Regions from separate parts of the Homo sapiens genome. Here region 2 is linked to region 1. The links are contacts of gene promoters, found by promoter capture Hi-C in human tissues and cell types (Jung and others, 2019). All regions are on one chromosome and are shown on one strand. Each heading gives the region's core, a stretch centred on a gene start or on the middle of the fragment in contact. The rest is flanking DNA. Distances are from core to core; before and after follow the strand shown. Region 1 holds the start of NLRP8 (NLR family pyrin domain containing 8). Region 2 holds the start of LOC105372460 (a long non-coding RNA gene).

Region 1 (4,357 bases), core at 915-3,414:
GCCTCCTGGGTTCAAGCAATTCTCCTGCCTCAGCCTCCCGAGTAGCTGGGATTACAGGCACCCACCACCACGCCCAGCTACTTTTTGTGTTTTTAATAGAGGCAGGGTTTCACCATGTTGGCCAGGCTGGTCTGGAACTCCTGGCCTGAAGTGATCCACCTGTCTTGGCCTCCCAAAGTGCTGGGATTACAGGCGTGAGCCACCGCACCCAGCCAGTCCTGCAAATTTCTTAAAGCTGCAGCTCACTGTGGCTGGAACGTGGTCAGCAATGGTCATGGAATAAGTAGAGGTAGAAAATGTGTGACTGTGTTAGGCTCCTCCATGCAGCGCCACCCACTGGACGGAAGGAGCACTAGCAAGAGTCAGCCACCCAGGAGCATATCACCTTTGTCCTGGGACCAAGCCCAGCTACTCTGGACCCAAGGGAGGACTGAGTCAATTAAACAAGTTTATCCAGATGTTTGGGTGTCACATAAGTTATAAGAGGGAGAAGTGTTAAAGAAGAAGCTATTGGCCAGGTGCAGTGGCTCACACCTGTAATCCCAGCACTTTGGGAGGCTGAGGTGGGTGGATCACTTGAGGTCAGGAGTTTGAGACCAGCCTGGCCAACATAGTGAAACCCCATCTATACTAAAAATACAAAAAAATTAGCCAGGCATGGTGGCAGGTGCCTGTAATCCCAGCTACTCAGGGGGCTGAGGCAAGGGAATTGCTTGAACCAGGGAAGTGGAGGTTGCAGTGAGCCGAGATCACACCACTGCACTCCAGCCTGGGAAACAGAGTGAGACTCTGTCTCTAAGTAAATAAATAAATAATAAATAAATAAACTATTATTGGAAGTTGGGGCAGGGGGGACAAAAATACACCCATGATCCTTTTTATTTTATTTCTTTTTTACATTTCTTTTAGATACAGGGGTACATGTGCAGGTTTGTTATATAGGCAAACGTGTTATGGGGGTGGGTTTGTTGTACAGGTTATCTCATCACCCAGGTATTAATCCCAGTACCCATTAGTTATTTTTCCTGATCTTCTCCCTCCTCCCACCCTCCAGCCTCTAGCAGACTCCAGTGTGTGGTGTTCCCTCTATGTGTCCATGTGTTCTCATCGTTTAGCTACCACTTATAAATGAGCACATGTGGTATTTGGTTTCCTGTTCCTGTGTTAGTTTGCTAAGGAATAATGGTCTCTGGCTCCATCTATGTTCCTGCAAAGGTCATGATCTCATTCTTTTTTATGGCTGCATAGTATTCCATGGTGTTTATGTACCACATTTTTTTATCCGGTCTATCACTGATGGGCATTTAGGTTGATTCCATGACTTTGCTATTGTGAGTAGTGCTGCAATGAACATACACAGGAATGTGTCTTTATAATAGAATGATTTATATTCCTTTGGATATATATCCAGTAATGGGATTGCTGAGTTGAATGGTAGTTCTCTTTTTAGGTCTTTGAGGAGTTGCCCCACTGTCATCCAGAGTAGTTGAACTAATTTACACTCCCACACACAGAGTATAAGTGTTCCTTTTTCTCTGCGACTTCACCAGCATCTGTTATTGCTTGACTTTTTAATAATCACCATTCTGACTGGTGTGAGATGACATCTCGTTGTGGTTTTGATTTGCATCTCTCTAATACATGATCCATTTTTTAAGAATACAGCATCTGTTATTGCTTGACTTTTTAATAATCACCATTCTGACTGGTGTGAGATGACATCTCGTTGTGGTTTTGATTTGCATCTCTCTAATACATGATCCATTTTTTTAAGAATAAAAACTTTGTTGAATTTGAGATCACTTTTAATCTAATGGAGCCTTCTAACCAACCATATATTTTCTAGATTTTAGCTTCACTGAATTATTTTACCTGCTTCTAATTTTTCTTTTCGCTAAACCTTTTGTGAAGGCTTTGATATTTTGCTTGCCTCTTCCCCAAAAGAAGTCATGGAGAATAGAAACTACAAACAATCCATTAGTCTAATGGACTAATCCCAAACATTCCATGCATCTTCAGTTTTTCCATAGGGCAGAGAATCTTTGAGGAAAGGAGGTAAAGGGAGTACCCGGCACGCAGAATACCTGCCAAGTAAGCATTACACGAATCTGTTTTCTTGGGTAGTGTTTTCATCTTCTTGTTTTATTGTTTTATGTCTCTGCAGGTCTCGTGTTTCTCTCTTCCAATCGGTTGTCTTTATCGTGGACACTGAGGTGTTCTCTGCCTTGACTAAAGATGAGTGACGTGAATCCACCCTCTGACACCCCCATTCCCTTTTCATCCTCCTCCACTCACAGTTCTCATATTCCGCCCTGGACATTCTCTTGCTACCCCGGCTCCCCATGTGAAAATGGGGTCATGCTGTACATGAGAAACGTGAGCCATGAGGAGCTACAACGGTTCAAGCAGCTCTTACTGACTGAGCTCAGTACTGGCACCATGCCCATCACCTGGGACCAGGTCGAGACAGCCAGCTGGGCAGAGGTGGTTCATCTCTTGATAGAGCGTTTCCCTGGACGACGCGCTTGGGATGTGACTTCGAACATCTTTGCCATTATGAACTGTGATAAAATGTGTGTTGTAGTCCGCAGAGAGATAAATGGTGAGTGTTGATCTGGTGGATAAAGTGGGGGTGGGCTTGGCTGCTGGGCAGCTAAACTACTCTAGTCACCACCCCTATCACTTATTGGCCTTCTGAGCAAGAAAGCAAACAGTGGAGGAAGATAATGGATCTAACCCAAAGGCAAAGACTGTCATACGGGCATTTTTTTAATTTTATTTTTCTGAGATGGGGTTTCGCTCTTCTTGCCCAGGCTGAAGTGCAATGGCACAATCTCGGCTCACTGCAAACCCCGCCTCCCAGGTACAGGTGATTCTCCTGCCTCAGCCTCCTGAGTAGCTGGGATTACAGGCACCCACCACCATGCCTGGGTAATTTTTTTTTATTTTTAGTAGAGACGGGGTTTCACCATGTTGGCCAGGCTGGTCTCGAACTACTGACCTCAGGTAATCCGCCTGCCTTGGCCCCCCAAAGTGCTGGGATTGCAGGTGTGAGCCACTGTGCCCAGCCCATATGGGCCTATTTTTTAAAAACTTAACTGAATACTGCTTATATGAGGTGAACGTTAAATGAAGTCATAGAGAAGTAGGAAGTAAAATAGTGGAAAAGCATATGCTATGGAAACAGCAGAAGACAGCTGGTATAGCTATGGTGATGTCAGGAGTGCTATATTTAAAGCAAGAAGGTTAAACACTTTAAAAGGCCATTTCGCAGCAACAAAGGGTGAATCCCACTGGAGGATATTGTAATCCAAAACCTCATCTTCAATATGAATAAAGCAGAGCTGGACTACAGTCATCCCCTTATCCAAGGTTTTGCTTTCTGAAGTTTGGGTTGATCATGGCCAAAAATAGATGAGTACAGTACACTGAGATATTCTGAGACAGAGAGAGACCACATTTACATACCGTTTATGATAGTATAGTATTATAATTGTTCTATTTCATTATTATTGTTAATCTCTTACTGTACCTAATTTATAATTTAAACTTTTATCATAGATCGGTATGTATTTTTTTTCTATTTTGAGATGGAGTCTTCATTCTGTCACACAGGCTGGAGTGCAGTGGTGTGATCTCAGCTCACTGCAACCTCCACCTCCCAGGTTCAAGCAATTCTCATGCCTCAGCCTCCCCAGTAGCTGGGATTACAGGTGCGCACCACCACACCCAGCTAATTTTTGTATTTTTAGTAGAAACGGGGTTTCACCATGTTGGCCAGGCTGGTTTCAAACTCCTGACCTTAGGTGATTTGCCTGCCTCGGCCTCCCAAAGTGCTGGAATTACAGGTGTGAGCCACCACACCCGGCCTAGATATGTATTTAAAAAAATCAGTATCCACATTGTTCAGTACTATCCACAGTTTCAGATATCCACCGGGGATCTTGGAACATAGACCCTGCAGAGAAGGGGGGACTACTGTATTAAAGGAAAATACACCAATCCAGAAACATGATAGGAGCTGTGAACCCGCCTCTCCCAATAGCTGATATTACAAGTAGTCAGTCTCATTGGTAAGAATGGAGAAAACGTCAGCTCCACAGTTTTAAACATAAACACAGGAGAGTGGGTGCCTTACGTCTCCTTAGCCACTGGCACCCCAACAGCTGGCTCAGCACCTAGCATGTCATAGGTGCTCAAATATTAGATGGCTAGAGAGTAATTGATTGTGAAAAGGGACTTTCTTTTGATAAGGCAGCCTAGGAAGTCCTCTTTGAGGAAATGATGCTAAGGTTGAGACCTAACACAGGAGGAAATAGCTCATCATGTGAAAAGGAGAGAGAGTCACCGGAAAAGA
Region 2 (4,357 bases), core at 1,213-3,712, 1.4 Mb before region 1:
AGCCTGACAAATCCTAAAGCAAAATCATACCTGCAGCATTGACTATATAATCCACTGGACCCCATGCAAAATGAAAATAGAGGGCCCCATGTTCAAACATCAAGATGTCAACACGAGGGCATTAAACTCAGCTTGGAACTCTGATGGCACGGCTCCTGGACAGTGAAGCCAGCCCTGCACAGAGACATAAGCAATTGGGGGATTGCACACAGCATATACCAGGCACCTCGAGATCCCAGAGCTGCATGCACCCAACACACGCCAGGTATTCCAGATGCATCAGACAGAAAGTGCCCCTGGAGGTGATGGTTGCAGATCTGGGGGCCTCCAAAGCCCACTTCGCCACTCTCTGCTTCAGTCGTCATACTGGACATGGACTGTGTCCCTGCACAGACCCTGTGTATACCTAGTCCGTTCACTGCACTGCAGGGACTCAGACTTGGTAACTGAGTGTATGAATGTGTATGAATGAAAATAGCATGTTGATTGTGTTGGATTATCTTTACTTAACAAAGTGGCATGCAGTTTTATGAAGTTTTAAATGGAATAAATAGTGACGTCTTCACATAAGCCTCCTTAGGAAGTGACTAATATCACCCACGCTTACAGGATGAGGAGGTTGAGCTTCACAGCTTGTGCAGCAGGCTGAGAGTCACGGAGCAAACAGGCCGCAGATCCTGGAATGAGCCCAGGCTGGCAGAGGTCAGAACCCAGTCTTGTGACCACAATGCTTTGCCACCTGTGTTAGCTTCCTGGGGCTGTCCTAACAAAGTCCTGCAATCTGCGTGGCTTAACACCACAAAATCAATTCACTTATAATCCTGGGAAGTAGAAGTTTGCAAGTAAGGTGTCAAGGAGGCCATGCCCACTCTGTAGGTTCTAGGAAAGAATCCTTCCACATCCCCCCCACCTTTTTTTTTTTTTTGAGACAGAGTCTTGCTCTGTCACCCAGATCTGTGGAGCGATCTTCTCTCACTGCAACCTGCACATCCTGGGTTCAAGTGATTCTCATGCCTCAGCCTCCCGAGTAGCTGGGACTACAGGTGTGCACCACCACACCTGGCTAATTTTTGTATTTTTTTAATTTAATTTTTTTTTGAGAGAGAGTTTCACTCTTGGCATCCAGGCTGGAATGCAATGGTGAGATCTTGGCTCACTGCAACCTCTGCCTCCTGGGTTCAAGTGATTCTCCTGCCTCAGCCTCCCAAGCAGCTGGGACTACAGGCATGCGCCATCATGCCCAGCTAATTTTTGTATTTTTAGTAGAGATGGGGTTTCACCAGCTGGTTTTGGCCAGGCTGGTTTCAAACACGTGATGTCAAGTGATCTGCCCACCTTGGCCTCCCAAAGTGCTGGCATTACAGGTGTGAGACACTTCCTGGCCCCAAATCATTCATTCATTCATTTATTCATTCTTCATTGAGTCATTCGGTAATTCCCCGTATAGTTACTAATCACTAAATGTGTGCCAAGTACGGGGCTCCTCACTTCGTACAATTACGGTATATTGTAGACACAAAGAGTGTCTTCATGGTGGGAACTGGAGGAGAAACAATGAAAAAGTGGAGAAATAGAAATAAATGACATCAATGATAAATTTTATGAAAGAAAATGTTAAAACTAAACCATGAAAACTAATACAGAAGCCTACTTGCCTACGGTGGTAAGGAAAGAAATCTTGGAGCTGGTGATATTTGCACTCAACAGTGATATGAGGTGTGGGGAGAGGGATGGAAGTTGAGATAGAGAGAAGAGCACGTGCAAAAGTCCTGGGGTGAGGGAAATGTGAAGGATCCATTTCTTTTGCTGTAAATAAGACAACATACTGTCCTGAGTGTACGTGGGTATTTATAAAGTAATAATATTTATCTAAAACTTGGAGTGAAGTATCTGAATGAACGTATGCTTCGAGTAAGGGTTATAAACCATTGTGTCTATTTATGTACAGATGAGAATACCACATATTCCAGCCCTGCCGTGAAGGAAAGGTGGAATCAGAGATGAGGAATCTTCAGCTCAGATAGGAGACACACAGAAAGGTTTGCATGTGGAAGTGCCAGCCTGTCAACCTCTCCAGAGGCTCCAGAAGTGAGGCCAGAATTTTGATGATAGGAGATAGACTTTGGAGGTCATCACCCACATCCCCTGTCATGGTCACTGTCATTGTCCCTATTCCAGGCAGTCAGAAGGAAAAATGAAGGATGAACATAATGCGTTGGGTTCAATGGGCCAGGGCTGGAAGCAGCCACCTCTCCTGGGCAAAGCCTCAATTTCACAGATCTTCTCAGGTGAGAATTGAATCACTGCAAATGAAAAGCTTGCCCTTGGGTTGTGTCGACAGGTTTGAAGCAGGCAGGGAAATCTATTCATGGCAGAGATATAAACGGTCCCTTTATTCTATGGGTGGATGTGGATCAAGAATTCTAGACACACAGGGTGAAGCCTGTGTCCAAACTAATAGGACCTTCACACTGTTTTCAGCATGGAGAGCTCACAAGTATTGGAGGATTGGGAGAATGGGGTGTCTAGAATAACGTAAAGCAACAGGAAGCTTGATTCACCCAGATGGGTAACCTGAGCATATGCCCTCCTATGGATCAGCTCAGGAATTCCACGCTGGCTTCAACACAAAGGCCTTTTCACCCGTGCTTGCTAACATTCAGATTCCCATTAAAGATGTGTGTTTTTAATTAATCATTTCAAATAAAACCTTGACATTATTTTGCATTAATTTTTCATGTTTAAGTAATTGGTTTAATCGAGAAACGGAAGTGCATGAGGCAGATACTAAGTTAGTTAGGTCATTGCAAATATTTAGTTGGACTTTTATCATCCCTCGGCCTCAGATTTTCTGAAGCCTCTGATGCCGTTCACCCCTCTGACCTACGTGAAAGTAGCTCTTATCTTGTTCACCTTTTGGACCTTGTTTCAAAAGTAATGATAGAAATGAGCAGTCCAGTTGAGAAAACAAGATACTCTGGGAGGGTAGGTGCTGAAAATTCTTGGAGAAACCAAAGCTGAAGACAAGACTCTCAATCAATTGATCTTGGCAAGGAATTGTGTTTTCTCTCTTCACTGTTTAATACTGGTCAATACAATTATGGATGTTTTGATCTGGAGTGATTCTTTGTTAACATCTCTCGTATTCATCCAGAGAATGTAAATAAGGGCATAAAACAAATGTAAATATTCCTATGATAAAATAATTATTCTGCTATGGAGAATATTGGATCTTGCTCCTTAGCGTGGGTTATTTGGGTGAAACACTGAGAAACATGAATGTCAAAGAGTCCTACACTGTGAAACCCCGTCTCTACTAAAAATACACACACACACACTCACACACACAAATTTGCCGGGCGTGGTGGTGGGCGCCTGTAGTCCCAGCTACTCAGAAGGCTGAGGCAGGAGAATGGTGTGAACCCGGGAGGCGGAGCTTGCAGTGAGCCGAGATCGCGCCACTGCACTCCAGCCTGGGGGACAGAGTGAGACTCCGTCTCAAAAAAAAACAAAAACAAAAACAAAAAAACAGTCCTAAGCTTTCTAGGACCAAGGAAGCAGCTACTCACTCGCAATCGCTAGAGTGTTCCCATCTTCCAACACCCACCTTGATTTTCTCTAGTCCAGCAATGAGTCAGGTCTCAGCATGGTCGAAGCAGGGAAGGAGCATCTCATGCTGCTTTCCTTGTGGTCATACCTTGCCAATGCCACTTCCAGAGGCAGGTTTTTCATTCCTTCTTTCAGCTTTCAGGGTCTGGATACTCTGAGGACACTGGTTTTGCCTCTGTGCATTGATGAATGCCTCCGTTAATCTGCAAGTGAAGAGTAAGGAAATTGCTTTTCACACATTACTTAGAGGGCTTTTGGTACTGTCAGCGAAGGACACTTGTCTGATGATATCGATGTCAACCACAACTTGCAAAATATCCCATAGACTCAAATTTTAGGAAACTATTCTAACCAAAGCTCATCATCTGAAAGCTGTTGCTCTATGCACAGGGTCCTGGGCTTCTCTGTGTGTGGCTCTTCCCCCCACACAGGAGACCCATCCTCTCGTGAGATCTTCACCCTGCGCAGGAGACCCGTCCTCTCCCGAGATCTTCGCCCCGCGCGGGAGATCCGGCCTCTCCCGAGATCTTCACCCCACGTAGGAGACAGGTCCTCTCGCGAGATCATCACCCCATGCAGGAGACCCGTCCTCTCGCGAAATCTGCACCCCTAGCATGAGATTCCCTCCTATCGCGAGATCTTCACCCAACTCAAGAGACCCGTCCTCTCCCGAGATCTTCAAGGCACGCGGAAGACCCGTCCTCTCGCGAGATCTTCCATGCGATGGCTCCTGCCTCTGCTCATATCC

The links. The method cuts DNA at HindIII sites, captures the fragments that hold promoters and counts their contacts. A contact is called where the count stands out against the background at its distance.
Region 2: a fragment that was not itself captured here is called in contact with the fragment with the promoter of NLRP8 in region 1 in 2 of the 25 tissues and cell types used here (heart right ventricle and liver).

The regions. Positions count from the first base shown.
Region 1 is chr19:55,945,668-55,950,024 of GRCh38, forward strand. NLRP8 (NLR family pyrin domain containing 8) reads left to right here and starts at 2,165. Exons shown (of 10, transcript NM_001433706.1): 1 at 2,165-2,602. The coding sequence starts at 2,236. The HindIII fragment of the contact is 14,722 bases long and covers 1-4,357 here.
Region 2 is chr19:54,522,953-54,527,309 of GRCh38, forward strand. LOC105372460 (a long non-coding RNA gene) reads right to left here and starts at 4,158. Exons shown (of 4, transcript XR_001754038.3): 1 at 3,962-4,158; 2 at 3,608-3,812. The HindIII fragment of the contact is 4,451 bases long and covers 238-4,357 here.